Linked DNA regions of Homo sapiens: regions 1, 2, 3, 5, 6 and 7 are each linked to region 4. The links are contacts of gene promoters, found by promoter capture Hi-C in blood cells and fetal thymus (Javierre and others, 2016). All regions are on one chromosome and are shown on one strand. Each heading gives the region's core, a stretch centred on a gene start or on the middle of the fragment in contact. The rest is flanking DNA. Distances are from core to core; before and after follow the strand shown. Region 1 overlaps LOC105374007 (a long non-coding RNA gene). Region 2 overlaps LOC101929298 (a long non-coding RNA gene). Region 3 has its middle 260 kb from the start of LINC00973. Region 4 holds the start of CPOX (coproporphyrinogen oxidase). Region 5 overlaps ARL6 (ARF like GTPase 6). Region 6 overlaps RIOX2 (ribosomal oxygenase 2). Region 7 overlaps GABRR3 (gamma-aminobutyric acid type A receptor subunit rho3).

Evidence for each region. The method cuts DNA at HindIII sites, captures the fragments that hold promoters and counts their contacts. A CHiCAGO score of 5 or more calls a contact.
Region 1: a fragment that was not itself captured here is called in contact with the fragment with the promoter of CPOX in region 4 in 1 of 17 cell types (M1 macrophages); the score reaches 6.8 in M1 macrophages.
Region 2: a fragment that was not itself captured here is called in contact with the fragment with the promoter of CPOX in region 4 in 2 of 17 cell types (total CD4 T cells and total CD8 T cells); the score reaches 5.6 in total CD4 T cells.
Region 3: a fragment that was not itself captured here is called in contact with the fragment with the promoter of CPOX in region 4 in 1 of 17 cell types (fetal thymus); the score reaches 5.6 in fetal thymus.
Region 5: a fragment that was not itself captured here is called in contact with the fragment with the promoter of CPOX in region 4 in 3 of 17 cell types (naive CD8 T cells, total CD4 T cells and total CD8 T cells); the score reaches 8.1 in naive CD8 T cells.
Region 6: a fragment that was not itself captured here is called in contact with the fragment with the promoter of CPOX in region 4 in 1 of 17 cell types (total CD8 T cells); the score reaches 5.2 in total CD8 T cells.
Region 7: a contact is called between a fragment that was not itself captured here and the fragment with the promoter of CPOX in region 4, in 1 of 17 cell types (non-activated CD4 T cells). The highest score is 5.0, in non-activated CD4 T cells.

What each region holds. Positions count from the first base shown.
Region 1 is chr3:99,514,071-99,518,295 of GRCh38, reverse strand. The region is part of intron 1 of LOC105374007 (a long non-coding RNA gene); the gene reads left to right. LOC105374005 (a long non-coding RNA gene) reads left to right here. Exons shown (of 5, transcript XR_007095985.1): 2 at 918-1,019; 3 at 3,442-3,524. Among named protein-coding and RNA genes, the nearest start is that of COL8A1, 120 kb to the left of the region's middle. The HindIII fragment of the contact is 942 bases long and covers 1,947-2,888 here.
Region 2 is chr3:97,801,106-97,805,124 of GRCh38, reverse strand. The region is part of intron 2 of LOC101929298 (a long non-coding RNA gene); the gene reads left to right. It overlaps ARL6 (ARF like GTPase 6), which reads right to left. Exons shown (of 8, transcript NM_001278293.3): 8 at 3,896-4,019. Among named protein-coding and RNA genes, the nearest start is that of CRYBG3, 19 kb to the left of the region's middle. The HindIII fragment of the contact is 2,997 bases long and covers 735-3,731 here.
Region 3 is chr3:99,173,856-99,178,110 of GRCh38, reverse strand. No RefSeq gene overlaps it. Among named protein-coding and RNA genes, the nearest start is that of LINC00973, 260 kb to the right of the region's middle. The HindIII fragment of the contact is 988 bases long and covers 1,828-2,815 here.
Region 4 is chr3:98,592,149-98,596,476 of GRCh38, reverse strand. CPOX (coproporphyrinogen oxidase) reads left to right here and starts at 2,866. Exons shown (of 7, transcript NM_000097.7): 1 at 2,866-3,528. The coding sequence starts at 2,973. RefSeq lists an enhancer at 2,328-2,377 and a silencer at 2,878-3,327. The HindIII fragment of the contact is 5,536 bases long and covers 1-3,826 here.
Region 5 is chr3:97,779,480-97,783,715 of GRCh38, reverse strand. It overlaps ARL6 (ARF like GTPase 6), which reads right to left. Exons shown (of 8, transcript NM_001278293.3): 3 at 3,496-3,557; 4 at 3,033-3,101. Among named protein-coding and RNA genes, the nearest start is that of ARL6, 17 kb to the right of the region's middle. The HindIII fragment of the contact is 6,022 bases long and covers 1-4,236 here.
Region 6 is chr3:97,960,035-97,963,980 of GRCh38, reverse strand. It overlaps RIOX2 (ribosomal oxygenase 2), which reads left to right. Exons shown (of 10, transcript NM_153182.4): 3 at 2,273-2,392. Among named protein-coding and RNA genes, the nearest start is that of RIOX2, 10 kb to the left of the region's middle. The HindIII fragment of the contact is 1,263 bases long and covers 1,904-3,166 here.
Region 7 is chr3:98,004,025-98,008,274 of GRCh38, reverse strand. GABRR3 (gamma-aminobutyric acid type A receptor subunit rho3) reads left to right here. Exons shown (of 10, transcript NM_001105580.3): 7 at 371-511. Among named protein-coding and RNA genes, the nearest start is that of GABRR3, 29 kb to the left of the region's middle. The HindIII fragment of the contact is 5,970 bases long and covers 1-4,250 here.

The sequences.
Region 1 (4,225 bases), core at 1,168-3,667, 920 kb before region 4:
CTACATGGTAGAAAATAAGTGTGGCTTAATACAAAATTTCTTTTTTTATATTATCAGAAATCTAAAAGTGTATCAATTAAAAAATACTTATCAGTTACATTTTTCATTCTCTCTCTCTCTCTTTTTTTTTTTTTGAGACAAGTTTTGCTCTTGTTGCCCAGGCTGGAGTGCAGTGGCTCTATCTCGGCTCACTGTAACCTCTGCTTCCTGGATTCAAGTGATTTTCCTGCCTCAACCTCCCGAGTAGCTGGGATTACAGGCACCCACCACCATACCTGGCTAATTTTTTGTATTTTTAGTAGAGACAGGGTTTCAGCATGTTGGCCCAGGTTGGTCTCCAACTCCTGACCTCAAGTGATCCCTCCGCCTTGGCCTCCCAAAGCGCAGGGATTACAGGAGTGAGCCACTGTGCCCGACCTCATTCACTCTTAAATGATCTTTTCCTTTAGGCCTCCTCTCATTAAGACTAAGCCAAGGCATGGTGGCTCATATCTGTAATCCAAGCACTTTGGGAGGCTGAAGCAGGTGGATCACTTAAGGTCAGGAGTTGGAGACCAGCCTGGCCAACATGGTGAAACCCTGTCTCTATCAAAAAATACAAAAATTAGCTAGACATAGTGGCGTGCACCAGTAGCCCCAGCTACTTGGGGAGGCTGAGGTGAGAGGATTGCTTGAACCTGGGGGCAGAGGTTGCAGTGAGTTGAGATCCTGCCACTGCACTCCAGCCTGGGCAACAGAATGAGACCCTGTCTTTAAAAAAAAAAAAAAAAAAAAAGATTAAGCCAAGAAGGTTTTTGCCTTGGAAATGAGTCTCAAAGATGAGTTTTTGAGTCCACGGTATTAGAATGGTTTTGATACCTAGTTTTTTTTTTTTGAGAAAGAAAAGAATTTATTAAATGTCTAACTCTCTCCCACAGTAAATATCAAAAACCAATCCTGGCATACTTCCTTCAGAGAGTTTTGTTGTAAGCCATTGTATGGAAATATTGGAGTCTGTTTTAAGGAAAGTTCTCATCAAGGTACTTCAGTTTTTGTTTTTACTTGTTTTGTTTTCCCATAAAGAGAAAAAGGTAAGAGGAAGAGAAACAAGAAATCAGATGTTATTGTCCTACTTTTCCTCTCTTGGCCAAAACCCTAAGGAGTGGGAGTGAAAGGCAGAAATACCCAGATAGTTTTGGGAAACTCCCAGCATAGGGAGGCTTGCTCCTCACTTCTCAAACAGGGAACACTGAAGTCAGCCCTTTATAGAATTTGTTTCTTTCCATATGTATTGGAGTCTTATGATGGCAGCCAGGTTAGATAGGCCACACGTGATGTGCTGGTAACCTGTTGTCTGAGTGTGGCCTTTAGGGATTCTAAATATTTCTGTATCCCTTGGCAAGTAGACACCTAAGCACTAAAAACAGGACAAGGAAGTGGCAGAAGGTGTTAAACTGATCTATGCCAGGCACTGGTTTCATTTCAACAGATACCAAGGAAGGATTCCTAAGGGCAAGACCAGATCTACTGCTATATGGTAGACAGGGAAGAAAACAGCCATGGAGGATATGCAGAGTCTCCCCACTATGTAGATGCCATCTTTCGAAGATGGAGCAGAAGGGAGAAACTCCTAAATAAGTGAGACACAGTTGACTGAATTAACTCAAAGGAAGTAATTCTAATTTGAAAAAGAAGGGTTTTGTTTTCCCTCCTGCCTAAAAAGATGTTCTAGAAAAAAAGTTATAGACAATGGCAAAAAAGTGTAGGATATTTCCGAATTGTCATATATACTACAAGTTTCAGTCCTGCTACATTTCAGTCCTACTACAAGTACTTAAAGTATCTAGTACCATCCAAAAGTGAACACTGACATTTGTTGACACTTAAAGTATATACTATTTTAGTCAGAGATTGCATGGTAAGATATTCTCTTTTATATAAAAAAGAAGCCATTGATTCCAGAAGCTTAATAATTTCTGAATTTCTTCATGAATAGGTGGTAGGGTGGAAAAATTTAAACCCTTTAAGAGAAATCCAACTGGCCATGATGAGCATTTGCCAAAGAACTTGGAAGCTCCATGAGAGGTTACTGAGCATCCTGTGGAAGGCGCAGGATGCAGAGGTAGAAAATGCTTATTGCCAAAGGTAGGGCCTGGAGGCAGAGCCAGGGCCCCAGCTGCATTTACTTTTGTGCCTGCTATTTGGCTTGGCAGAAGCAGCCTCTTTTCCGGGAGGGAAATGATTTTTACATCGGTCCGTAGACTTAGAGGATATAAACTCAAAAGAAAGGAGGATTGAGTTGTTCTGACTAACTAGGTTTGGTTCATTTCCTTGGGACCTCCCCAAACACATTGATATTTCTGTAAGAATTAAATGAAGGCAGTGATGGAAAGAAGACATTTTAATTGCTGCCTGAATTTCCAGTTAGTGTAATATCTGCTTGTTAATGTTTCTGAAATGGTTCTGTGTAGGAAAATCCCAGAGAAGTCATCTAATCCATCTTCCTGGTGGTGCAGGATCACTACCTACTATTTATCAAAGATAAGGTAGTTACATCTGACCCAAAAGAGATACTTTGGAGGAAGCATCACTGTTGAACAGGCCTGTTCTATAATTAAGGGTATATGCCAAGGAGCTCATAGTCAGGGAGATAGTAAAAGAACACACATTTACAATGTAACAAGTATTTTGGTAGTTGATCATTCATGTGTCACACTGTTGTTAAACACCGTCCTTGTGCCAGGTTCTGGGCTAGGTGCTGGGAACATCAAAGAGATTGTTTTCTAACTGGAGTGGTAAGTTTAAATGTTAAATACCATGAAAAAAGTTCTAATGGAAGAGCTAACAGAGCCCTCAAGTAGCATGAAGAGTGATGATTGGGGATCTGGGTTGGGGAATCAGAGAAAGCTTCATGGAGAAGGTGATATTTGTGAGAAATTTTTATAGATTGCCACATGAAATCACCTCTGTAATACAACAGGTGCATTGATGAATATGCCAGTTTGGGGTTGTTCTTAAAAAACAAGTGAGGCTGGGTGCGGTGGCTTGCTCCTATAATCCTAACAGTTTGAGAGGCCAAGGAGGGAGGATCGCTTGAGGTCAGGAGTTCAAGACTAGCCTGGGCAACATAGTAAGACCTTGTCTTTACAAAAATTCAGAAAAAAAAAATAGCTGGCTGGCTGCATTGGCATGCACCTGTAGTCCCATCTACTTGGGAGTCTGAGGTAAGAAGAGTACTAGCGCCTGGAAGGTCAAGGCTGCAGTGAGCCTGAATGACAGAGTGAGACCCTGTCTCCAAAAACAACAACAAGAACAACAAACAAAACAAAAAAACAAAAAACAAGAGAATAAAAGTGAATTGATCAACAGGAGGAATTATCTTTAGAATGCTTTTTAAAGTTAATCTGAAATGAAAAGATTAAGCCATTTTTCATAGCTTGGTTTATTTTGATTATTGCTAAGGTATAACCAGCTCTATCATGTTGCATTGTGCTTGATGACTTGGGGAATGATCATTATGACGGTCAGAATCTGCTGGAGCAAAGGTATGAAGGGAAGTGAAGTTTGTCAGAGATATTTTCTATTTACTTCATCTTCTCACGCCCTTTATCTCTTAGACCCTTCTCTTCTTTCCCTTGACAATTGTCACGTATAACTGGGGTTCACCCATTCTTCTCTCTCTTTGCTGGTTAGGAAAGAAATTGATAATCAAATTGACATTTAGCTTTTAGAACTTAATGATTTAACCCATACTTTAGGAACTTTGATTTTCTTTTTTTTTTTTATTATAGTTTAAGTTTTAGGGTACATGTGCACAACGTGCAGGTTAGTTACATATGTATACATGTGCCATGCTGGTGTGCTGCACCCATTAACTCGTCATTTAACATTAGGTATATCTCCTAATGCTATCTCTTTGATTTTCAAAGAAATTTATAGGAGGAAGACAATGCTTAGCTTAAAAAGAATGATAATGACAAAATGTCTGATATGAAGACATTTAGATGGTAGGGAATATACTTTTACCAAGTGTCCTTCCAAATCCCTGGAGGAAATGCTTCCCCCTTTGCTTAGGTGACTACCTTGACTTACAGCCCTCCCTGAATATTCCCCAGAAGGATTTTTAGATTTAGTTAAGCTATAATGACAGAGCCCATAAGACTGTTAACTTCTAGTGTAGTTATGATATATTTGCACTTTGTAAACTCATGAATGAATTCCATGACTGAAGGCTTACTTATGTATG
Region 2 (4,019 bases), core at 984-3,483, 790 kb after region 4:
TAAGAGCTGATGTATCATATTTAAGAATTACAAAAAACAACATATTTTTTTAAAACCCCTAAAACTTGGTAAGAATAGTATACTTGCAAGACATAACTATAAATCTGCCTAAGAAAGTCCCAGGGAAGAGTTAGTGATCACCAAAGTGTGAGCTTGCTATGACTTTAGGAAGGTGCATGCATCCTGATACACATACACACACACACACACACACACCCACAGAGCCTAAGAAGAGTGTGAATGTGAAACTGGCTTTAACTCCAATAGTAATGATTACATTTAATTGGAGGACACATAAATCAATTTTAGTAATGTAACATTGATACTTCATAAATCATTTGGAAGAATTTATAAACTTTTCAAAGAGATTATAAGAGACAGACCAAATTCTGAGCCTAGTCCTTTGTGGACATGTTATTCGTTTAGCTAAATGGCAAAGGTTTAGAACACTGACGCATGATCATGAAATGTTTGTAATGAAGTAAACATTCTTAGCTGTACTTGTTACATAACTCAAAAATACAAATATCTACAAATTGAATTATAAAAATGTTTCTACTGCAGGGAAGTTTAAATTTTTCCCGATCTGTTCACAGATTAACAGGAAAAAAGGCATACAAATTTATTTTGTGCAGTCATGTTCACAGGAGTCACACAAAATATAAAAACTCAAAGAAATGGCCATATGGAGTTTTTATACTATCCTGACGCTACAGAAAGAATAGCTAGAAGCTTCACCCAGAAGAGTTTATGGTGGCAAGACAGGTTATGGGAGCGGGGAAGAGGAGGCTTGGCTAGCAAAGGTCATCTGGTTATATAGATGAAACCTCACAGACAGCAGAATCTCAGTTAAAGGTGTCAGACTCTCAGTTAATCTTTCCTTGATCCAGACATGGGAGGGCCTCAGAGAAAGCCTGGCTGCATCAGTGCAGATTTTCTCTACAGTAGAAAATCGTTCCCACAAAAGACAGCTTTGTAGGGCTACTTGTGTTTGCAGGCCCTCTGCATAGCTTTCTCAAAATACACCAAATAAGTATATTTTGGCGTGAAATATTTTTGTTTCCATCACTATATTCTAACATATACATTTCAAGACTATCAACAGTAGCTATCATTTACCTCAAAATATTGGTAAAAATCATCAGGGAATCTGAAAGTCCAAACCAGATGCTTGGGGACAATTTGTATGTGTGATTATACTTTTAAAAGTTAACATATTTGATGCTTCATAATCTGCCTTATCTCTTGCCACCCATTTAAAGAAAAGGAAGAATAAAAACCAGAAGGCCAAGACTTCATACTTTTCATTCTTAATGGGAAATTAAAGGAATTTCAAAGAGCATTGCTTTTCAGCCATTTGCACCTAATTTTTCATTTTTAATACAATTATTTAAGAAGGAAGTAATTTCAAATTGTTCTATTGCAATTTAGAATGTTTAGCTTTGCTGCGAAGCTATGTAAAAGGTAAGAACACAGATTCCAGAGCCAGATCTTGTAGACTCAAAATCTGGTTTCTTCCATGTATTTGCAATATGCTATCTCTTGCCTCACTTTATCATCTGTTACACGGGTCAACAAACTTTTTATGTAGAAGGCATCAGACAGTATACATTTTAGGCTTTACAGGCCACATATAGTCTCTGTTGCTTTTTTTTTTTTTTTTTTTTTTTGAGACAGAGTGTCACTCTGTTGCCCAGGCTGGAGTGCAGTAGTGCAATCTTGGCTCACTGCAACCTCCACCTCTTGGGTTCAAGTGATTCTCATGCCTCAGCCTCCTGAGTAGCTGGGACCACAGGCACATGCCACCACACCTGGCTAATTTTTGTATTTTTAGTAGAGACGAGGTTTCCCCACATTGGCCAGGCTGGTCGCGAACACCTGTCCTCAAGTAATCCACCTGCTTTGGCCTCCCAACGGCCGATTACCTGCTGGGATTACAGGGATGAGCCACCATGCCTGGCCTAACAACTCTTTAAAAATGTAAAATACTTCAAACTATACTACAAGGCTATAGTAGCCAAAACAGCATGGTACTGGCACCAAAACAGAGATATAGACCAATGGAACAGAACAGAGCCCTCAGAAATAATACCACACATCTACAACCATCTGATCTTTGACAAACCTGACAAAAACAAGAAATAGGGAAAGGATTCCCTATTTAATAAATGGTGCTAGGAAAACTGGCTAGCCATATGTAGAAAGCTGAAACTGGATCCCTTCCTTACACCTTATACAAAAATTAATTCAAGATGGATTAAAGACTTAAATGTTAGACCTAAAACCATAAAAACCCTACAAGAAAACCTAGGCAATACCATTCAGGACATAGGCATGGGCAAGGACTTCATGTCTAAAACCCCAAAAGTAATGGCAACAAAAGCCAAAATTGACAAATGGGATCTAATTAATCTAAAGGGCTTCTGCACAGCAAAAGAAACTACCATCAGAGTGAACAAGCAACCTACAGAATGGGAGAAAATTTTTGCAATCTACTCATCTGACAAAGGGCTAATAGCCAGAATCTACAAAGAACTCAAACAAATTTACAAGAAAAAAACAAACAACCCCATCACAAAGTGGGCGAAGGACATTAACAGACACTTCTCAAAAGAAGATATTTATGCAGCCAACAGACACATGAAAAAATGGTCATCATCACTGGTCATCAGAGAAATGCAAATCAAAACTACAATGAGATAACCATCTCACATCAGTTAGAATGGTGATCATTAAAAAGTCAGGAAACAACAGGTGCTGGAGAGGATGTGGAGAAATAGGAACACTTTTACACTGTTGGTGGGACTGTAAACTAGTTCAACCATTGTGGAAGTCAGTGTGGCGATTCCTCAAGGATCTAGAACTAGAAATACCATTTGACCCAGCAATCCCATTACTGGGTATATACCCAAAGGATTATAAATCATGCTGCTATAAAGACGCACACGTATGTTTATTGTGGCACTATTCACAATAGCAAAGACCTGGAACCAACCCAAATGTCCATCAATGATAGACTGGATTAAGAAAATGTGGCACATATACACCATGGAATACTATGCAGCCATAAAAAAGGATGAGTTCATGTCCTTTGTAGGGACATGGATGAAACTGGAAACCATCATTCTCAGCAAACTATCGCATGGACAAAAAACCAAACACCACATGTTCTCACTCATAGGTGGGAATTGAACAATGAGAACACTTGGACACAGGAAGGGGAACATCACACACCGGGGCCTGTCGTGGGGTGGGGGGAGGGTGGAGGGATAGCTTTAGGAGATATACGTAATGTAAATGATGAGTTAATGGGTGCAGCACACCAACGTGGCGCATGTATACATATGTAACAAACCTGCACGTTGTGCACATGTACCCTAGAACTTAAAAGTATAATAATTTAAAAAAAGTAAAATAAACATTAAAGGCAGTACAAAAATGAGTTAGCAGTTTACTGACACTTGATCTATATAATAGAGATAATACCTCACAGGGTTCTTATGACAATTAAATGAATATATGTAAAGTGCTTACAAAGTATGGGCACATTGTAAAAGCTATGTTTATCATTACTACTATATTTCTAATCAAATTTTATTTTCAAAATATCTAGTATTCCTGGGTGACTTTTAGCATTACTTGGTGATTTGAAATTTGGAGACAGATTTTATCTTTCTTGGTTTATTCTAAATTGCCAGAAAAGCAGTTTAACATGGTATGCCGATGAAGCTTCTAAATCTGGCATTGAAATCAAGTGATTGGAAGAAAGAGCCATAAAGGTTCTGAGGCAGGCGAAGCTGAGCAGGAGCATCCATACGGAGAAAGATGAAAATGTAATAACTAAGTAACCTGAAACATTCAATTAAACACAATAACCATTTCTTAATCACTGTAGTATTTCTCTCTAGTCGCAGACGTACACAAACCTATTTATTTAGGTGACCTTGTAATACCAGTCATTTATTTTCATGAACAAAGGAAATAATCAGAAAGCAGAAAATAGGTACAAACTCAGTTAC
Region 3 (4,255 bases), core at 1,072-3,571, 580 kb before region 4:
ATATGATCCAGCAATCCCACTACTGGTTATATACCCAAAAGAAAGTAAATTAGTGTATTGAAGAAATAATAACACTCCTACGTTTGTTGTAGCACTGTTTACAATAGATAAGACTTAAGGGTGTTTCTTTCAATTCCTAGTTTTTTAAGATTTTTGAAAATAATGAATTATTAAATTTTTCCAATATTACTGCATATATTGAAATTATCTACAACTTTTCTTCAGTCTGTTAATGTGATGGATCACGTAAATATTTCTGATGTTATGCTATCCTTAAATTCCTGGCATAAACCCAAATTAGTCAAAATTTATAAATGTACTTTTAAGCACCATAAAATTGTTTTCTTTCAGATGTAAAATCATCTTGGACAACAATTTTTCTTTGATATTTTCCTAATTCATTATGTTAAAGTATCTGCATTTAAATCTTCATGTTCCTTTTACAAGTGTCTTTTATAAAGTGTAGCTATTACAGCTTTATCCAATCCTATAATCTATATATTTTACTGGTTGTACTGAATCAAAGAAATTTTATTGTGATTACTAATACATTTAGATTTATTTCTGCAATCTTATAATGAAACATATTTTACTTACCTCTTTTCCTGACTTCTTGTTGTATTGATAAGGTAGTTTTCTTTTTTCTTCTCCTGAATTAGAAGGGATAGCATTTATTTCCATGAATTTAGTGCTCTCCTTTGAAGTTTTAAAACCTAATTAGCTTTATATTTTTCTGAAAAAGTAAAAAAATTAGTTAACATTTTGGTTCTTTTCCTAAACAAGAATGATAACTTGCTGTTTATCTCCAAAAACTATGTGAAACTTTTATTACACTTTTCTAAATACATTTTTAGTTTAATATTTTTAAGTATCTTTGCTTCCTATTCCTTCTCGGAACTCACTTTTTCCTCAGGGTTAATATTTTATCTTACTGAAAGTCCTTTTTAAGGGCAATCTTTAAGAAAGACATTTAGAAAACTATTTTTTAATTATTTAGTGGGTTTATTTTTTATACATAAAACAATATGAACTCAATTTCATATGTGTGTTATAGCTATTCTCAGCATAGTGACACAGTAGAGAATATTTGATAGATTTATTACTGAAGATAATCACAAAGGTTATGGAGGAAACATAAACAGAGGATGACTGCATTTAATGTGATACTGAACTAGTAATCTGTAATTTACCTTTAAACTAAGAATATTTGATTCTATAAATAGGCAAAAGCCAAGATTCTCAAGCTAATATGTAAACACTAAAAGATCAAATACAAAGACATTAAGTGTTTACATAAAAATAATAAGTTAAACTCTGTCAGGTCGCACTATAAAAAGTTTAACAACTCAGTCAAGTTATAACAACTTAAAAGTGTGTTTATATAACAAGTAAATCATTTCTTATGACTTGGTTTATAGTGAACACATATAAAATGCTTCCAAATTATTTGGAACATTAGGTAATATTGCACAATTTTTGCTAAGGTTCAAACTGTTTATTCTACTGAATGCATATTATGCCATGAGGTAAGAGAGATGAGAAGTATCAGTGTGAGTAGTAAGTAGTTTGAACTTAGGAGGCACACTAATCAGAGTATAAATCGTGATCCCACTTTTTGCCGTCATCTGTGAGACCTTTGGAAAAACACTTTACCTGCTGATGCCCTGGTTTCCCTATCTATAAAATGGAAGTTAACAACACAACACTTTCATAAAAGGTTATGGTGAGGATTAATAGAAATACTGCTGACAGAGCACTTATCAAATAGCTGAGCATATTATAAGACCTTAATAAAAGATAATTTATTATTAACGTTAGAAAAAAGCTTAAATTATTAATATTATAAACATTGTGAACTTTTCCTATTATAGTCTTTCCAGCAAAAGCCAATAACTGGTAGGAAAGGTATCCATATAAAAATTAGAGTCTATCTGGGGAGATAAAACATTTCAGAGTTTTACTCTATTAGGTGCATTCTGAGTAAGCTGATTAATAGGGGGAAATAGTATTATGGTATCTAGGAAATGTCTGCATTATCAATTTGCAATTGGGGTTATGTTGATACGCATATGATAGAATAAATTTTTCTAATCACTTTCAATTCACATTTGATATAGTAAAAAATTATATTCAAGTCAGATTCTGTTTTACATGTCAATTATAAATAAGCACAGGTTGATCCTCTACTATTATTTGTAATGTTTTTACTTGCAGCCTCTGATTATTCATCAACATAAGCCTATGTTGTTTAAAAACAATTTTTAAAAATTGTAGTTGTCAAAGATCAAACATACATTTCTCATAAAAACTCCTAGTTTTTAATATGAAAGAAATATGTTACATTTGCTCTAAACTAGCCATGCACATGCATTCTCCTAGAGTTTTGCATATTATTATGTCTATATAGAATCTCCAGTGGTCGTTAATGTCCTTCCTAGGGTTATATGGCATTTAATCAGTGTACCCACCTGGCAGGACTGTGGTTGATGTTCCACAGCAAGGAAGGAAACGAGCCCATTAATGAAATTTATAGCACTTTATTACATCATTTCTGGTGGAGAGGGGAATTAGAAGTCACTTCTGTTATGGTTTAATTTCTTGTGAAATTCCAGATGAATTCATTGTCATAAATATTCAGGTTCATGACAGAGAAAATGAACAAGCTGCTTGGGCTTTGTCCTCATTTGCTGTCGTAATTGCTACAATTGACTACGATGAGGCAGTTTTACTTCCCATGTAACTGAGCCATTCACTTTGATTTCCAACTTCTTACTTATAAATTGCATAATTTAATAATCATTAAATAATTGAAGCTTTCAGCAATCTAACCAAATATACATTGTTCCTTTTATTTTTTATTTTTATTTTTTAACTTTTAGGTTCAGGGTTACATGTGCAGGTTTGTTGTACAGGTAAACTACATGTCACGGAGGTTTGTTGTACAGGTAACTTTGTTACCCAGGAAATAAGCACAATACCTGGTATTATACTTATTAGGTATTTTTTCCTATCCTCTCCTTTTTCCCACCCCCTACCTTCAAGTAAGTTCCAGTGTCTGTTGATCCTCTCCTAGTATCCATGTGTCATTATTGTTTAGCTCCCACTTGTAAATCTGAACATGCAGTATTTGATTTTCTGTTCCTGTGTTAATTTGATTAGTATAATGGCCTTTAGCTCCATCCATGCTGCTGCAAAGGACATGATTGTATTCTTTTTATGGCTGCATAGTATTCTATGATGTATATGTATCACACTTTCTTCATCCATTCTACCATTGATGGGCATTTAGGTTGATTCCATGTCTTTGCTATTGTGAAAATTGCTACATGGAACATACAAGTGCATGTGTCTTTACGGTAGAATGATTTATATTCCTTTGGATATATACCCACTAATGAGATTGCTAGGTCTAATGGTAGTTCTGTTTTAAGTTCTTTGAGAAATTTCACTCACAGATGGGAATTGAACAATGAGAACACATGGACACAAGAAAGGGAACATCACACACCGGTGTCTGTTGTGGGGGGAGAGGGGAGGGATAGCATTAGGAGATATACCTAATGCTAAATGACGAGTTAATGGGTGCAGCACACCAACATGGCACATGTATACATATGTAACAAACCTGCACATTGTGCACATGTACCCTAAAACTTAAGTATAATAATAATAAAATAAAATAAATCTCCAAACTGCTCTCTACGGGGGCTAAACTAATTTACACTCCCACCAGCAGTGTATAAACATTCTCTTTTCTCCAAAACCTCACCAGCACCTGTTATTTTTTTAGTTTTTAATCATAGTCATTCTGACTGGTGTGAGATGGTATCTCACTGTAGTTTTGATTTGCATTTCTCTAATGATTTGTGATTGAATTTTTTTTTTCTTTTAGAATGTTTAATGTAGGCCCCCAATCTCTTCTGGCTTATAGGGTTTCTGTTGAAAGTACTGCTGTTACCCTGATGGGGTTCCCTTTGCAGGTGACCTACCTCTTTTCTCAAGCTGACTTTACCATTTTTTTCTTTCATTTTGACCTTGATGAATCAGATAATTATGTATCTTGGGGATAGTATTTTTGTGTAATATCTCACAGAAGTTCTCTGCACTTCCTCAATTTGAATGTTGTTCTCTTCGGGAAAGTTTGAGAAGTTTTCATAGATGATATCCTGAAATATTTTCTCCAAGTAGCTTGCTTTTTCCCTGTTTCTTTCAGGGACACCAACAAGTCATACATTTGGCCTCTTTACATATTCCC
Region 4 (4,328 bases), core at 1,617-4,116:
GCTTTAAGAACCAATTATTTTAATAATCTATGTAAGCATTTGCTACTATAGACCTAAAAGTTTAAAATACAAATTCTAGGAGAAAAAAATGAATTAACATTTTAAAAATTCTACTTCCTTGGTAATCCTACCACCCCCCTCCCATCACCCCACCAAAATTTCTGATGAGTTGGGCAGAAGGATGCCAAGGCAAACACAGATTTTCAGCAATATTTTGTTACTAATTAGCCTGAGTTTCTGTATCTATCTGAAAGCAACAGAACTGAGTGAATTTGGTAATACATTTCTTAACTTTGGCTTTCAGAATTTTATAATTGTTGAAAATAGTATAGTTTAGTAAAAATAGTGAGAATTCTAGGTGTGTGTGTGTGTGTGTGTGTGTGTGTTGTTAGAAGGCAGTAAAGCTACCAGAGGGATAAACATTAGAACTCTCTCTAACATGCACCAGCAGGCCTAAAATAAGTTATGTTCAACAGGGCTTTAGGAAAAAGTTCGTAAGGATTCTGAGAAGCATGTGGAGTTTGAAAAATGATGTTTATGTACTAATACCTATAAGGCTAGGCAGAATCATCTTTGCAATAGGGTCACATAAAAAATAGTTGGAAAGCAATGCAAGAAACTAAGCTAAAAAACAGACAAGAACTTCTACTTTACACTTTACTTTCTACAACTTATTAGAAACTTTTTATTTGTCCCAACTAGTTTTCTGATGTAAGAAATTACTTAGATAGGTGATGTCTTTTTTTCTTCCCCCATACCGACAAATACAACTTAAATATAAGTATCCCACTTGGGAACAATTTGAACCTCCAGAAAGGTGATTTAAACTCACACTAACAAAGTTATTGAAGCCTTTCTTAAGCATTGAATAACAGTTTGCCAGTAGGGAGGGTGCTAGGAACCAGAGGAAGAAAGGAGTGAGGCCCTTCGTATAGAGAGGCTAAGGATGAGAGGGATGGAAACCTGGAATCTAGTATGCAATTTGCTCAGGATCAGCCTTTGTGACCGGGCAAATGTTCAAAACAGTCTGTTCTTACTTAGCTTTAACTAACTTTATGGGCTTTACTAACTTTATGGGTATTTTTAGCAGAATTAGAGCAATAATGAGGGGGTTTCTTACAAATAAACGTACCAGGGAGGTTCCTTTTCATTTGATGAGGTTCATTTATCATCACCAGGCCCAGCCCAACCCCATCACAGGCATCCAGTAGAGGCCATCAACCCTTCCTACAATGACAATTCTTATTTCCCTTCCTCCACTTCTAACTTGGCCTCCTGGCAGGTTGCACTATGACCAAAAGCTAATTGTTTTTCTTCCCTAAAAGTCGCTTAGTCACTTCTCAATCCAAGCCTTTACTTTTCACAGATTCTCAGTGGTGAGGCTTCGGCAAGCACACCCACCTTGCTAACATCATGTCCCAGTGAGAGCTGCCAGGTACAGTTGTGTGTGGACAAGATGCCAATTGATCTGACTCAAAAGCCATTGAAGTTCCATCAGTGCATCCTGCCACAAAGAAAACACTTGTGGGAAAAGCTACCAGTGGCTTAAATTATTATCTACTACTAGAAATTAAAATCATCCCGGAGACTTATGGGACAAATTAGCCCATGACAATAGTTCTCACACTTTTACGTCCAGGAACCATGGAGCTGTGGTATGGTTACAGGGGAGACAAAGACCTGCCTGTCAAATCTATTAGCTTCTTTCCTCATTTCTTTAAAGGGTGGGGGAAGGGAGACAGAGTAGGAGGAAGTGTGGATATTTGCCTTGCCTAGTTTGTAGCAGTTGTTGTAAGTATTAAACGTGAGCAATATTTGGGAGCACCCTACAGTAGTAGAATAACTATTTTTTAAATTCTTATTTGTTAATCACCAAAACACACCAAGTCAGGAATTTTCTACTGGTTAACCAAAACAGTCACGTTGCTTTTCCTTTTTCTAAAATAATCAAGTAGGCACTATAGAAGCAAGGCCTGGGGAAACCTTTTTTTTTTTTTTTTTTTTCTGAGACAGAGTCTCACTCTGTCACCCAGGCTGGAGTGCAGTGGTGCGATCTCGGCTCACTACAACCTCTGCCTCCCGGGTTCAAGCGATTCTCCTGCCTCAGCCTCCCGAGTAGCTGAGCCTACAGGTGCACGCCGCCACGCCCGGCTATTTTTTTGTAGTTTTAGTAGAGACAGGGTTTCACCATGTTGGCTGGTCTCGAACTCCTGACCTCATGTGATCCAACCGCCTCGGCTTTCCAAAATGCTAGCATTACAGGCTTGAGCCACCGCGCCCGGCCCCAGCCTGGGGAAATCTTAAGGACAGAACTGTGATGTGGACTCGATCACAGAAAGTCTTCTCCTCGACTCTCTTCCGAGTCCATTACTAGCTTCTCCCACTCTCTTTAGAAAACCATCCTTCAGCAAAGAGTTTCCCAGCCTGCCCATCCCCTCTAAAAACTCTAGAGGACCAGGACCCAGGGCGAAGGGCGGGTCTATACAGATCCTGAGCCAGGCTCTGTATTCGCAAATCCTGTTTGAAAATGTAAGCGGGACTGGGATCTCTGCCACATTTCCGCCCCAGTCCGCCCTCAGCCTCCCAGCCCTACTCTATCTTCTCTCCTTGGCTGAGTAAACAGCCGACCCGAGGTTGTACGTGACAAGAAAGCCTCTTTTATCTCTCCCGTCCCTTCCACAGCACCGTCCCCGCCCCACTCTCTTCCCTTCGGACCAGCCCTTCTGGGCGCGTCGGATTCTTATCTCCCGCCCCGCGCAGGGACGCCGCAGGCGGCGATAGGATCCGGACTACAGCTCCCAGCGCGCCCCAGTTCCCGCCCCCGCCTCCGGAGCCCGACGCTGCAGCGGCTCTTCTCGAAAGGTTCTTTCCGCCTGTGCAGCTCGCCGGCTCAATACTCCGGGGGTCTGGGTGGGGGGCTCAAACGCAGGGCTCTGGGACGCAGGCACTGCTCCAGGTGATAGTGCGGGAACATGGCCTTGCAGCTGGGCAGGCTGAGCTCGGGCCCCTGCTGGCTCGTGGCGCGGGGCGGCTGCGGAGGGCCCCGCGCCTGGTCCCAGTGCGGCGGCGGAGGGCTCCGAGCCTGGTCCCAGCGCAGCGCAGCCGGACGCGTCTGCCGGCCCCCTGGCCCGGCTGGCACGGAGCAGAGCCGCGGGCTGGGGCACGGCTCGACGTCGAGAGGCGGCCCCTGGGTGGGGACAGGGCTGGCCGCGGCGCTGGCGGGGTTGGTGGGGCTGGCCACCGCCGCCTTCGGGCATGTGCAGCGGGCGGAGATGTTGCCTAAGACCTCGGGGACGCGGGCCACTTCGCTGGGGAGGCCGGAGGAGGAGGAGGATGAGCTGGCCCACCGCTGCAGCAGCTTCATGGCCCCGCCTGTGACCGACCTGGGCGAGCTGCGAAGGAGGCCGGGCGACATGAAGACCAAGATGGAGCTGCTGATTCTGGAGACCCAGGCCCAGGTGTGCCAGGCTCTGGCACAGGTAGACGGGGGCGCCAACTTTTCTGTGGACCGGTGGGAGAGGAAGGAAGGTAAGGAGGCCGGCCCCTGGCGGGAGTTGGAGACAGGGAAAAAGGGTCAGGTTCCAGGTTGCAGACAGAAAATATAATAGTTCACAATATGGGATGGGGTAGGTAGGGGGTACCCACAGAGAGGCCGCTTGGTTAGAGGCCGCTGATAAAAAGATGGACACGAAAGGGTCACTAGCCCTCTGCTTGCAGGTATGGACCCGGATCAGCTGTCACTGTAGTACTGCATTTCAAAATCTTTGCAATTCCGTAGCAGCATTTTTTTGTAGAACTCTTAAGGGGTATTTGCAGCTAACAAGCTTAGATGTCCAAAGTTCGTTACTGAACATAAATTTCAATAGATTATGGAACACATTTTCTCTCCTTCTCTGGGTGAATTTGCCCTTTTTCCTCTTTAGGAGATGGAAAGAACTCATCTCCTGTGCGCTAAGTGTCGGCTAAACTCCTCCAGCCAGGATGTCATTGTGTCAGAATCTTCCCACTTCTTTTTACTGTTACACAAGATATATTTGATTCGTTTCTCAGTAGCACTACCAAATGCACGCATCAGATTTCCTGCTAGGAAAATCTTCTCTTCCAATATCAAAATACTTGAGCATCAAAACCCAGTTCTCGTAGAGGCGTACATTCATGACCATGTTGTTGCCCATACAGTGAAACCCCACATCTTGAGTGGAAACTTGAAAGATTCCTGACTTTTCCTAGCTGGAAATACAACAGCAGCTTCTCACCGGCAGATTTTGAGCTGTGATACTGACACATCTATATTAAATGAAGTTCAGTCTAGTTTTCCATCTTATGTT
Region 5 (4,236 bases), core at 557-3,056, 810 kb after region 4:
ATATACAAAATAAAACTTTTTATATACCATTTTCTCCTATCATTAAAAAAGGATAATGCTGATTATCACAGACATACATTACCAGTACATATAGAAACCAGAACAATCAAAGTACCTATCAAGATCTATAAAAACGTTCAATCACTTTGAGCCAGTGATTTTATTTCTGAAATTCATTCTAAGGAATCACGAACTGGGGCTAAGATTTATACAAGATTTTGACTGAAGGACTGTTTACAATTTTCAAAAACAGAATAGCCTTCATGTCCTAGAGTAGAGAAATGGTTAAAGAAATTTTGGCAAAGCTGTGTGAAAAAATATTAGGCAGCTGTTAGTTATATTCATTGCATGTTTTTCCTGATTTACCCTTACCACATGTTAACTGAAAAAAGCAAGATACAAAATTATACATGGTACATAATTTAGATGGTTCCTTTTTCCTTAGTTATATAAAGTATATGTTATATATTTCAAAAGGAGGAGAAAGATACCAAAAAGATTGACAATGGTGAATTTATGAATAGTGAGATTTATGGGAAACATGTTTTCAATATTCTCTTCTATATTTTCCAAATTTAAAAAATGTGTACTCCTTATATTTTTGCATGCTATTACCTTTTTATATTGTAAAAATAGTATGTAAAAATTATATAATATTTAACATTATGGCATCATATAGATGAGAAAGTAAATGTCTCTCTTCACCAAACAGGATGTGAAAAAAAAAAGAAAAGAAAAATAAAAGAAAGTAAACTTCCCTTATAATCCTACTATTCCAAAAATAAATGCTACTAATGGTTTGGTGCATAATCCACTAAGAACTTTCTTCTTTCTATACATAGTAAGTACATATTTATAGCAAATGTAAATTTCCTTGATTTTTTTTTTTTACTACTATGGTTATATATATAGCAAAGATAAATATTTATAGTAACATTTTTACATAATTGATATAAAAATGTTATAAATAATGCTAACATACAACCTTCTATGTATATTTTTTTGCCCATAAGCCCTGGTCATAGAATACTTTTCTAAAAGTAAAAATGCTTGCTGGAGTTTATAAACATTTTTCATTTTAACAGATATCAATAAATTACCCTGAAAAAGATATTACATTCTCACAGGAGTGGCTCACTTTGACAAGAGCATACTTTATTAATCTTTGTAACCTTTTTCAGTCTAATAGATCAAAATGTACTTGTTTTGTTTCACAGTTAGAAAAGTACGAAAATAGGGAAAGTAAATTTACTTTTATTGTTGATTTTTCAATAGTAATCATATTCTCCATTCAATCTACAATGTAACCACTCTATTCTAGAATTCATAAATTTCATCCAAAAACAGTACAAAGAAAAAAGGAGTTAAAATCAAATAAAAACAAAGTTTACTTTCCTACTATTTTCTCTCTATATATATTTTTGTAATTAAAATTAAAGTATTTTTAAAGTAGCTAAATACATTTTTAAAAGGAATTATTTATCAACTAATTGGAGGAGGAATTTAAAAAATCCTGTACTGAAAACTCAGGTTTCCTAAACACACAAACAAATAAGAAACACATAAAATGCATCTCCCCAAGGAATTTAATGCAGAATACCACAAACATGCCACTTTTCCTTTTCCAAACTAACCCTCGAATCTGAAGCACTCTCTTTTCCCTCTCTCTCAGAAGTCTTCTGGACCTACGATTTAAATAGGCCTTCAATTTATTGAAGGACTCATTGAAAAAAAAATTTGAATAAATTTCCTCTGGTTCATATCCCAAATATATACCATTTAATGTTTGGTCTCACATTATTAGGAAAGAGTTAATCTAAATCTAAATCTTATCTGGTAAATATCACATACCATTTCAAGGCAGCAGTTCATAATGACAAAAGAGAGTTTAGTTAAGAGATAGTGTTTTTAAGTTTCAGACTCTAAAAGTGAAATACATTGCTCTTAAATGAAGTCCTAACAATATTAGAAGCTAATGAATTTATTTTATTACCATATGCAAATCTCCAGAAGGTATAACACATTTGGGTCCTAGTAACTTGACAGCTATTAGTCTGAAGTATAGTCATCCCTCCGAATTGGCGAGGGATTGGTTCCAGGATCCCCTTCAAATACCAAAATCTGCAGATGCTCAAGTCTCTTATATAAAATGGCTTAGTATTTGCTTATAACATATGCAAATTCTTCCATATTCTTTAAATCACCCTAGATTACTTATAATACGTAATACAATGCCTACATATGACCTCATTTATATGCTTTCAATACAGTAGTTTGTGCACGGCAATTTAAGTTTTGCTTTTTGGAACTTTATGGCATTTTTCTCCCCAAATATTTTTGATCTACAATTGGTTTAATCCAGGAATGCAGAACCCAAGGACATGAAGGACCAAGTGTAAATTAGTGAGCACTTGACTTGCATATGCTGAAAAATGGCTTGTTTCAAATTATTCATAGAACAATGGATCAACTGTTAGGCAACACTGTTATTTTTAACTAAATTTAGTCAATAATATTTACTGGCCTATATGCTGAGCATCATACTAGGTCTTGAAAAAATAATATGAATAATAAATAATCCCTTCCCTTGAGGAGTTCACACTTCCACTAGGGAGGCGGCTATGGTGCATAACTTCAAGACATGGTAAGTATGATTAGAGAGATAGAAATGGACAAAGTGCCAGGTGAACAATAAGGACAAAATAACTGGGCAGAACAGTGAAACTTCAGAGGAAAGGACTTTTAGCTGAGTTTTAAAGCAGGAATATGTTAACCTTAAACTGAAGTGAAGTAGGATAGAATGGGGCATTAAAAACAGAGAGAATAGTACATGCAAAGGCCCGAAGTCATGAAGGACCTGAAACATTTGACAAACAATGTTGAGTCTCATTACATATTTTTTAAAATAGGAAATGTTCATAAATTACATGAAAAAAAAAAGCCAAACAACCTAGCCATATAATTCTTTGGATTTCTAATCATTATTATTAGTAAAAACCATCTAGTTAAGCAACATTCACAGATGTACTTACTTATAATAGTGTTCCCAGAGATTTCTGTATCTTCCTTGACCTGACATGTCAAACACTGTAAATGACAAACTACAAAAAGAAGCAAAACATGACTACATTATAAACTAAAGCATAACTTTTACTTAAAATTTTAAATTATTTACAATCAAAGAAATTACCCTTCATATGCAATATTCAACATGTGCCAATTTACAAGTAAAAGTTCTATGAAATAAATGTATTAATATAAACACAATTTTGCAATAAATAACATAAAAAACTTCTTTGCTAGTGAAGTTATCAGAGTTTGTCTAAACTCTAAATTCTGAAAAATAAACCAGCCATAGTGGTTAGAAACACTTTAATACCTATGAGATTCTGAAACAACAAATTACTTTATCTAAGGGTAGGAAGAATGACCAGGTAGACCTAATATTGTTATTTTTCACTAGCAACTTTTTTGTTAAGGGATAAAGTGGATTACCTGGATGATTTGAATTTCTCTATGCTGAATCCTATTGTTGGAAGGATATTTTGAGATTGAGCCTTTAAGAGAAAAGACAAAGTTCAGAAATTTACAATTACCAGAGATGAGTTTTCCTCAAGTTAAAGTATCCAGATTTTCAGTTTCTAAAATCTGTCACTAAGGAGATGATAGGATTTAACAAAGTTATATAATTTTTTCAATAGGATCACTCTGTGTGAATTCTTTATAGAAGTTTAAGGTTTACTAATTATGAATCTGCATAATATTAATTCACATTTGTGGCTTGTGGCATGCTACCAAGGACATAAGCGTTTGTTTTATAAGTGGTTTAATAAGTGTTTTTTTTTTTTTTGAGATAGAGTCTCACTCTGTCACCCAGGCTGGAGAGCAGTGGCGCAATCTCGGCTCACTGCAAGCTCCACCTCCCGGCTTCACACCATTCTCCTGCCTCAGCCTCCCGAGTAGCTGGGACTACAGGCGCCCGCCACCACGCCTGGCTAATTTTTTGTATTTTTAGTGGAGACAGGGTTTCACCGTGTTAGCCAGGATGGTCTCGATCTCCTAACCTTGTGATCTGCCCGCCCTGGGCTCCCAAAGTGCTGGGATTACAGGAGTGAGCCACCGTGCCTGGCATACTTTCTAATCTTTCAACACATACGTGAGTTTGTATATGTTCCAGACTGCCCTCATGTGTAGATGGTTCCTGCCTTTATGGAGTTTACAAGCTAGAAGATGTAA
Region 6 (3,946 bases), core at 1,286-3,785, 630 kb after region 4:
AGGATTTGTGATAAGTTGTTTTATGCTGTTCGCCACAGTGTTTGAGTGGGAGTGATAATATCTTTATCTTAAAGATAAACAACTGAAGTCACCTTGCTTGTAATTATAACTTGAACCGAGGTGGTTTGACTCCAGATCTCTTCTAGTAGGCCACGGTTGGCAGATTCAGAGGCTAAAGGTCCAGATGAAATAGAAAAATTGTGCCATTGATAGCATTTTCAGTAACCTTTAAGAAGAAAAGAGACATATTCATTAGTTACCCTGATAGTTGGGTCGGGAACCATAAAATCACCTATACAGTCCTGAAAGACCTCTCATACCATCAGAGAGAGAAAGAGAGAGAGAGAAGCCCTGGTTTTCTAGTGGTTCCAGTTACTATATAAAAATAATTACAGAACCAGGTCCTGCTGGCCTTTCCCTGAAATAGATTAGGCCCTTTTGGAGCTCTGTTAACTCTTTGGAGCTATTCAGATGACATTAAATTATTTTTTCTGTGTTAAGTAGAAACTCTGAGATCTATAGAGAAGCCCAGTGGTCTGTATAAAGAGGTCCTTGGCTAAATCCATGGCTCACATCTGTAATCCCAGCACTTTGGGAGGTCAGAGCAGGAGGATAGCTTGAATCCAAGAGTTTGACAACAGCCTGGGCAACAAAGTGAGACCACCATCTCTACAAAATAAGAGAAAAAAATTAGCCGGGCATGGTAGCATGCACCTGCAGTCCCAGCTACTTGGGAGGTTGAGATGGGAGGATCATTTAAGCCTGGGATGTCGAGGCTGCAGTGAACTGTGATTGTGATCACACCACTGCACTTCAGCCTGGGTGACAGAGCAAGACCATGTCTTAAAAAAGTCTTTTTTCATATTGACCCAGTTCTTCCCAGTTCTTTCTCACTTGATATTTTTAATACAGTGGATTCTTTTTCACTCCTGTGGTAGAAGGGACTCCCAAGCTGTGGCCATTGGTTTGCTCAGCAAGTATTTAAATATGTTGTCATGCAGTCTGTGTGCCAGGCACTGTACATTCATATGTTTAAAACTTCAGTCTCTTTAGTGCCCTTTGTGATTTGTCTTTTCTTAAATTCTCTGAAAGGTATGGACTTTGGAGCCATGCTGCCTGAATTTGAATCCTGGCTCCATCATTTACTAGTTGCATGGTCTCATGCCTCAGTTTCCTCATCTGTAAACTGAAGATAATGTTAGTACCCTCTTTATGAGGCAGGGTTATTGTGAGGGTTGCATAATTGATATTTGTAAAGCACTTGGAGACAGTGCCTGGCACATAGGAAGTGCTAATATCTACATGGCCTAATTGCCCCCCTCCTCTCTTCTCACCAGCCTTGGTAAAATCAGACTTCCTTCTCTCTCCTGGGAATATATGGCCCATCGCTAGGCCCCTAAGTCTGATGTCTGCTCTGAAGAGTTGATAGTGGAGAGAAGGAACATTACCCAGCCTGTTATTTCTTCTCTGTCTGTACCTTCTTCCCGTGTTATCATTTCTGTTCCCATTGCTTTAAATATCCATTTTGTGTAGGCAATTCCCAAGTGTAAATCTTCAGTCCTTAGTTTCTGCCAGAACTTCAGACCGACTTAAAGACATCTCCATGTGGGGGGGGGGGGGGGGGTCTTAGCATTCCAAACTTAACATTCCTAATATAAAACTCTTTTTTTTGTCCTGAAAACTTGTTTTTTAGTAAGTTTTTCCCATCTCGTTACGTGGAAAGGGGAACTGATTGCCCAAGTCAAAAACCCAAGAGTATTTTTTTTAACTCCGCTCCTTTACATTGAGTCTGTCGGCAAGTCCTGTCTGTGCTGCTTCTAGAGTGCATCCCACTCTTCTACCTCCCTCCTTGCCTTTCTTACCACCCCAGTCACTTCTCGCTTGAGCTGCTGCCTGAGAAGCTTCCTCACTAGTCTCTCTGACTTCCACTCTTTTCTACAGTGCATTCTTCACACAATAACCAGGGTGAGCTTTCAAAAATGTAAATTGGATTGTGTCCTTCCCTGCTTAAAAGCCTTCCGGACTCCCAATTGCCCACCTTGTCAGTCATCCCTTTATCTGTTCACGTCTGTTACATGGTGTTTCTGCACTGGAATGGAAGATTTTTGAGACCATGGGTATTGGCTGTATCATTGCATAATTCCCAGTATCTGGTGTATAATAGTTGTGCAGTAAAGACTTCCTAAGTGAACAAGAACATGCTCTTATTCTTATTTCTAATACATTTTTCACTCCCCCACGCCGACCCTTTCTTTTTTCCTTTTTTGTAAAGGATGAGCTTTGGAGGATCCAGGAGAAGCTGGAATGTTACTTTGGCTCCTTGGTTGGCTCGAATGTGTACATAACTCCCGCAGGATCTCAGGGCCTGCCGCCCCATTATGATGATGTCGAGGTAAGAGATGGAGAAAATTGCCCCATGTTGGGAAGAATGAGTTGTTGAGAGCCTGGTTTAGTAGAGTTGTCAGGGTGAGTTCACATTATTCTCTAAGGCTCTTAGGTCTGTATTCGCTCTTTCTGTGCAGTTTCTGAGATATTGATTTCATCAAAATGTTGGGCCAAAGTAAATCCCACTAAACTGGTTTCCTGCTCTGTCTCAAAGGAACAGCTTGTTTCCAACCTTACTAATTTAAAGAGCCACACATTCGTCTGAAACAAGTATTTATTGAATTTATCTACAGAAAGGTGTGCTTGGCTTTTCCTTTAATTTCACAAAGTATGGTCTTTAATAAGATGAGGTCACAAATAATCCTTCATGTGCTTTCATTTTGTTCTTTTTCAGTAGCTGCCAAAAATATGTATATATTTTCCATTTGTGAAAATCTTGGGGCAGCTTGAATGAGGGTCATGGTTTCACTTAAGCATTGGCATCTTGACAAGTGTTGATTTCACTCTGATATGGCTTCCAAAAAAATTTAACTCTTTGGCTTATGTATTCCATAGTTTTATTTTTGTCCTAATATAAGGTGTAAACACAGAGTTATTGGTAAAAAGTCCCCTTTTTCTCCTTTGATAGCAATTTGACATCAATACATTTTCACAAAATGTTATTTTTAATATTTTTAATAGAATATCTTTGACTGAATAAAGAATAAAAAACTCGAAGTTTTCCTATCTCCCCAGGCCCTTTCAACATTCAGGATTTAGACATTCAGTAATATCTGAAGCTTGGCTTTTCCATCAGAGATTATGGGCTTTTAGCTGTCTGATAGAAGATTTAAAGGAATGAGATAGTGGGATATAAAGAACTCAGCGAGGCTCTAAGAAAGTGAAAAGAATGAATATCCAGTGTCAGGATTCACGATTCCGTTTTTAAAAATAAAACCCAGTAGTGGCAACTTTTGTTTAACTGTGGAATGACATGCATTTCTCATCTTTCATTTTTATTTTTTATCGGAAACTTGACCCTTGTGCAGTGTGGGGGTTAGTGGTGCCAACACCTCATGCAGTCAAAAATCTGCTTGTAACTTTTGACTTCCCTAAAACTTAACTACTAGTAGCCTTCCATTGCCTAGATATCTTACTGATAGCATAAATTGGTTAACACTTATTTTGTATGTTATATGTGTTATATACTTTATTCTTCAGTAAAGGAACCTGGAGAAAAGTTATTAAAATTATAAGAAAGGGAAAAGTATTTTTAATATTGTGTTTATCAGTACCGTAAGTTTACATCATTTGTTTACAAGCTGAATCGTCCATCTGAAATGGTGGGTAGCCACAGCTGCAGGCCTTAATCTACAATACACATCAAGCAATTCAACTTTTTCTTGTAACGTTACGACTTTTTTCTGTTTCTCGGGAGTACTTGCAGTAGCAGTAGTGGCACATCATATGGGTCCCATGGTGTTATTCACGGCTTAAGTTGTTGCACTAAACATGATGAAAAATACACAAGAACTGTTGAGAGATCATTTTTTACTGTGATACACAATTCACTGGAGAGAGG
Region 7 (4,250 bases), core at 901-3,400, 590 kb after region 4:
GGGGACTAACAGCCTGGAGTCAGGCCTGTGACAGTGAGGGGATGCTATGGTGTCACTCTGAGGCCTGGCTTAACACTCTAAGAGAATGTACACAAATATGGGAGCAGCTATCTGGGGAGTTTCAATTCATTGTGTGGGCACAAGATCCATACTATACTAGTCATCAGGGTCTAACTTTTAGAGATTCTTTTTCCTCCTCCTAAAAGTGTGTGTATGATCAGTCCATTGGCAAACATATTTTTATCACCTAATATGTACATGTCATTGGAGTAGGCACTAAGGATACAGAGCCACATAAGACATGGTTATAGAACTCATTGAGCTTACAAGAGCTTATTACACTTACAAGACTGATATTTTCATGTTTTAGATGCCTACAATGAGGATGACCTAATGCTATACTGGAAACACGGAAACAAGTCCTTAAATACTGAAGAACATATGTCCCTTTCTCAGTTCTTCATTGAAGACTTCAGTGCATCTAGTGGATTAGCTTTCTATAGCAGCACAGGTACAGCATTTTACATGGGTGATTCATCAGCATTTATTGGACATCTACTGTTTGCAAAGCACCACAACATGCGAAAAGACCGGAATCCAAGCGAGTGTCCCCTTTGGCCAGCACCATCATTCCTCTCCTTTTACAGGGAGCAAGCTCCACCCTTCCATACATCGTTTCTTTCCCACTCATGCAGCCACCTCTAACTAGATGCCTTGCTTCCATTCTTGACTTCTCCAGTCTCAATACAGCAGACAGAGTAATCTCTTTGGAACATAAAGTTCACAATTCTTTCCTGTTCTAAACTTTCCAGTGTCTTTCCATCACATTTACAACAAATTGAAGTTTCTCAACGTGATCAGTCTCCTGCCTAATGTGGGACTCACCCACTTCCTCTGCCCCTCACCACCTGCTACTCTCCCGACACTGGCGTTTTTGCTTGCCTGCCTCATTCCATCTACAGGGCCTCTGCTTGGCCTTGTCCTCCCTCTGCCTGGGGTGCTTTCCCCCAATATTCTCATGCCCTTCTCCCTCATTTCAGTCAGAGCTTTGTTCAAATAGCTTCTCAAACAGTGCTTTCCTAACCAAACCAACCCCGTGTAAAACAGGCTTCCTTTCTCACCGTTCCCTATCTCGGTCATCACAGCACTTACCATCACCTGAACTATGCGTTTATTTGACTGCTTTGTTGTGTGAGTGCCTCACCAGGAAAAGGGTGGGGAATCTGTCTGCCTTGCTCACCATTTCTTCTGCAGCACCTGGAATGTTCTTGGCACGTGACAGATGCTCAATAAAAATCAGCTGAATGAATCCATCCATAAAGTGCATCATTGCCCCAAACAGAAAACCTATCCAAAATTGGGCCTATATAGTACTCTTTACTATGACAGATATATTTCTGAATTGACAACTTTTATCCAAGACACCTTTTAAAGTTATATGTGATCCCCATTGACTAAAGTTGGAAGCAGCCTCCTTCGGTTCCCCTCTGCCCTCCTCACCCTCCACTATCATTCCCCTTCTGGATATTAATATTCTGGGTTATTTTAGGCCGAATCCATATAAAATGCCACTTCAGATTCAATGCAGCCATGCTTAGGCCAGCCAGAAAGTGTGCCAACAGCTGTCCCTGAGTTTCAGAGCTGTCCTGGCTAGAATGCTTTACCTACTCTGCCTTGATAGTGGTGTCTCTTCTCCTCAAAGATTCTCCACTCTGTTCTCAGATCTTGGAGAGTAGTTATCAAGTTTGTATCTAAAACCTGCAGCTTTAAGAGAGAAGTAGAAGTTGACATTGCAGAGAAGTTAAATGATTCTCTAGGAACAACAGCTATTTATCTATTTAGACCCAGAAGAAATTCTCTATTTCACTCCATTATTTGTCTACATTGCTTGGGATTCAGCAAATGATGCTCTCAATTTTAATCATGTTTATTGCCTTTTCTGATTATGTAAGTAGCACATATTTATTTGTTTTGATCACTGATATATCCCTGGCTCATAGTAGATGCTCAAAGGCTAATTATTGAATGAATGAATAAATGTTAGATAATTTGAAGAGACCTCAGAAAAATTTAAAGGAAAATCTCTTTGTAATCCTACCTCATAGAGATAAACTATATTATTATTTTGATATATTTTTCTGCTCCTCCTTCTTCTCCTCCTTTTCTCGGTTTGTCTTTCTCTATATGAATAAATATAGGCATATATTTATCAGGATTTTTAATGTTCTTACTTAATCCTAAATTAAATTAATATTTAAATAAAAGAATGTATGCAATGAAGCATGGTATATGTGAAGTATAATTTATAGGATGTGTTTTCATTTTACTATTGCTAAAATGAAAAATAACTTTGGCATATGATAAATTGTAAATAGATATTTGCAACATTTAATGCTAATATAATGTAATATATATGAAGCATAGAAATCAAAAAGAATTGTCTCATGCACAGAACATATGCAAAATATACAATAATTATGGCATTTCTTTAGCTTTTGAAGCACAACTATCCATTAACATATATCCAACCGTCCTCCTAACAGGAAGTTAAATTTCACTTCAAAATTCTAACTTTACCACTAAATCATTCCATTTGCTCTACCATAATTTTATTTGTGCTTGTCAGACTTTTTGAGCCCTACCAGGCAGCTACAACACTAGCTGATTTATATCTTTTTCTGGTCATGTTTTAGAATCTCTCTAAAGCCAGGAAAATACTGGCATGGAAAAACTTACTGCTTACAAAGATGCTTGCATTTTAAAATGAACTTACAAATCTTTAACGTTCAAAGGTAGTTACATTTTTAAGAAATATCATTTTGGTTCCTAAGAAAAATGAAAAAAAATTAGAATTAGGTTCAAATGTACATGCTTTGTGTAACATGAGAAGGAGACTTATCCATAATACATTAATATTCTTTAAAAGCAAGTTACGGAAGAATATATTTTAAAAATCCCATATTTGTTATTGAAGAATGTATGTATACATATTTATGAGTGCATGAGTGCTTATATACATATCTGTGCATATCGTGTGTGTGTGTGTGTGTGTGTGTGTGTGTGTTAAAAGCCTAGAAAGATTAACAATAGATACCTCTGAGAAGTAGGTACAAAAAACACTTGTATTTTTTAATTTGTTACAATATACCCATTTTTTTTAATGACAGAGATTGGTAGGAAAAATGCCGAAGGGAGGCATTTTGGAAGTTGTATTCAAATATCAAATCAATAATCATATCTGGGTTCATTTAACCATCCCTTAGTTAGGTTTCGGAAAGATTACATTTAGAAACTTATTTTAGTTCATGAGCATGTGATAGCTCTGCCTCACATTATCCACGAATCATTAAACATAATCTTCTGACAAACTCAAGTGTCTTTTTCAGACTAGTTTCCTGTTTAAATATTTTAGCTTCCTCAAAAATAATTTTTGATTTGTTTTCTTCACTCCTATCCTTACAACTACCAGCCACAACCACCACTCCCAGGTGTATAGAAAAACTATACATCTGACTCTGGCTATAAGAGTCAGAAATATAGTTATAGGACCTTAGTTTCCATTTTACAGCTGAACAACAGGGTGTTTTTTTTTTTTTCTTGGCCTTCACCACTACCGTTGCCACTGTTCAAAAATCACCACGACCTGGCAATATTAACAAGCAGATGAGGGCTTCTGCCTCCTGATCCCTTTCTCAAAATTCTCAAAATCATGCACTATAAATTTACAAAGAAAAAAGAAATGACTCCTGCCCCTAAGGGATGCATTGAATAATTATTCTTTATCATAGCATAATCTAATGGCTGAATGTGTAAGTAGTAGAAACAGACTGCCTAAGTTCAAACCCTGTCTCTATCATTTATTAGCAACCTGACCTTGGACAAGTTGCTTAATCTCTCTAACCCTTAACTTTCTCATCTTTAAATGGGTTTCATAATACTCTCTATATCATAGGGTTGTGAGGATACATGATGTCATATAGTTAAGTACCTTAGAATGTTATCTGCCATATAATAGAGGCTCAATAAATATTAGTTAGTAGCTGTCATCATCACCCTATTTTCATCCACATTATTTTGATCCTTTTCATAGAGAGTATTAAGGCCTACTTTCAAAGGGCCATTGAAGGTGACTGTCTCTAGGTATAAAAACCTTCTTTATTCTTGTCTTGGGACTGACTCCCCAAATACTGGCCCAGTCCTCCATTTCCCTGGGTGCCAACTCTCTAGCCTTTTTCTCTCTGTTATTAACT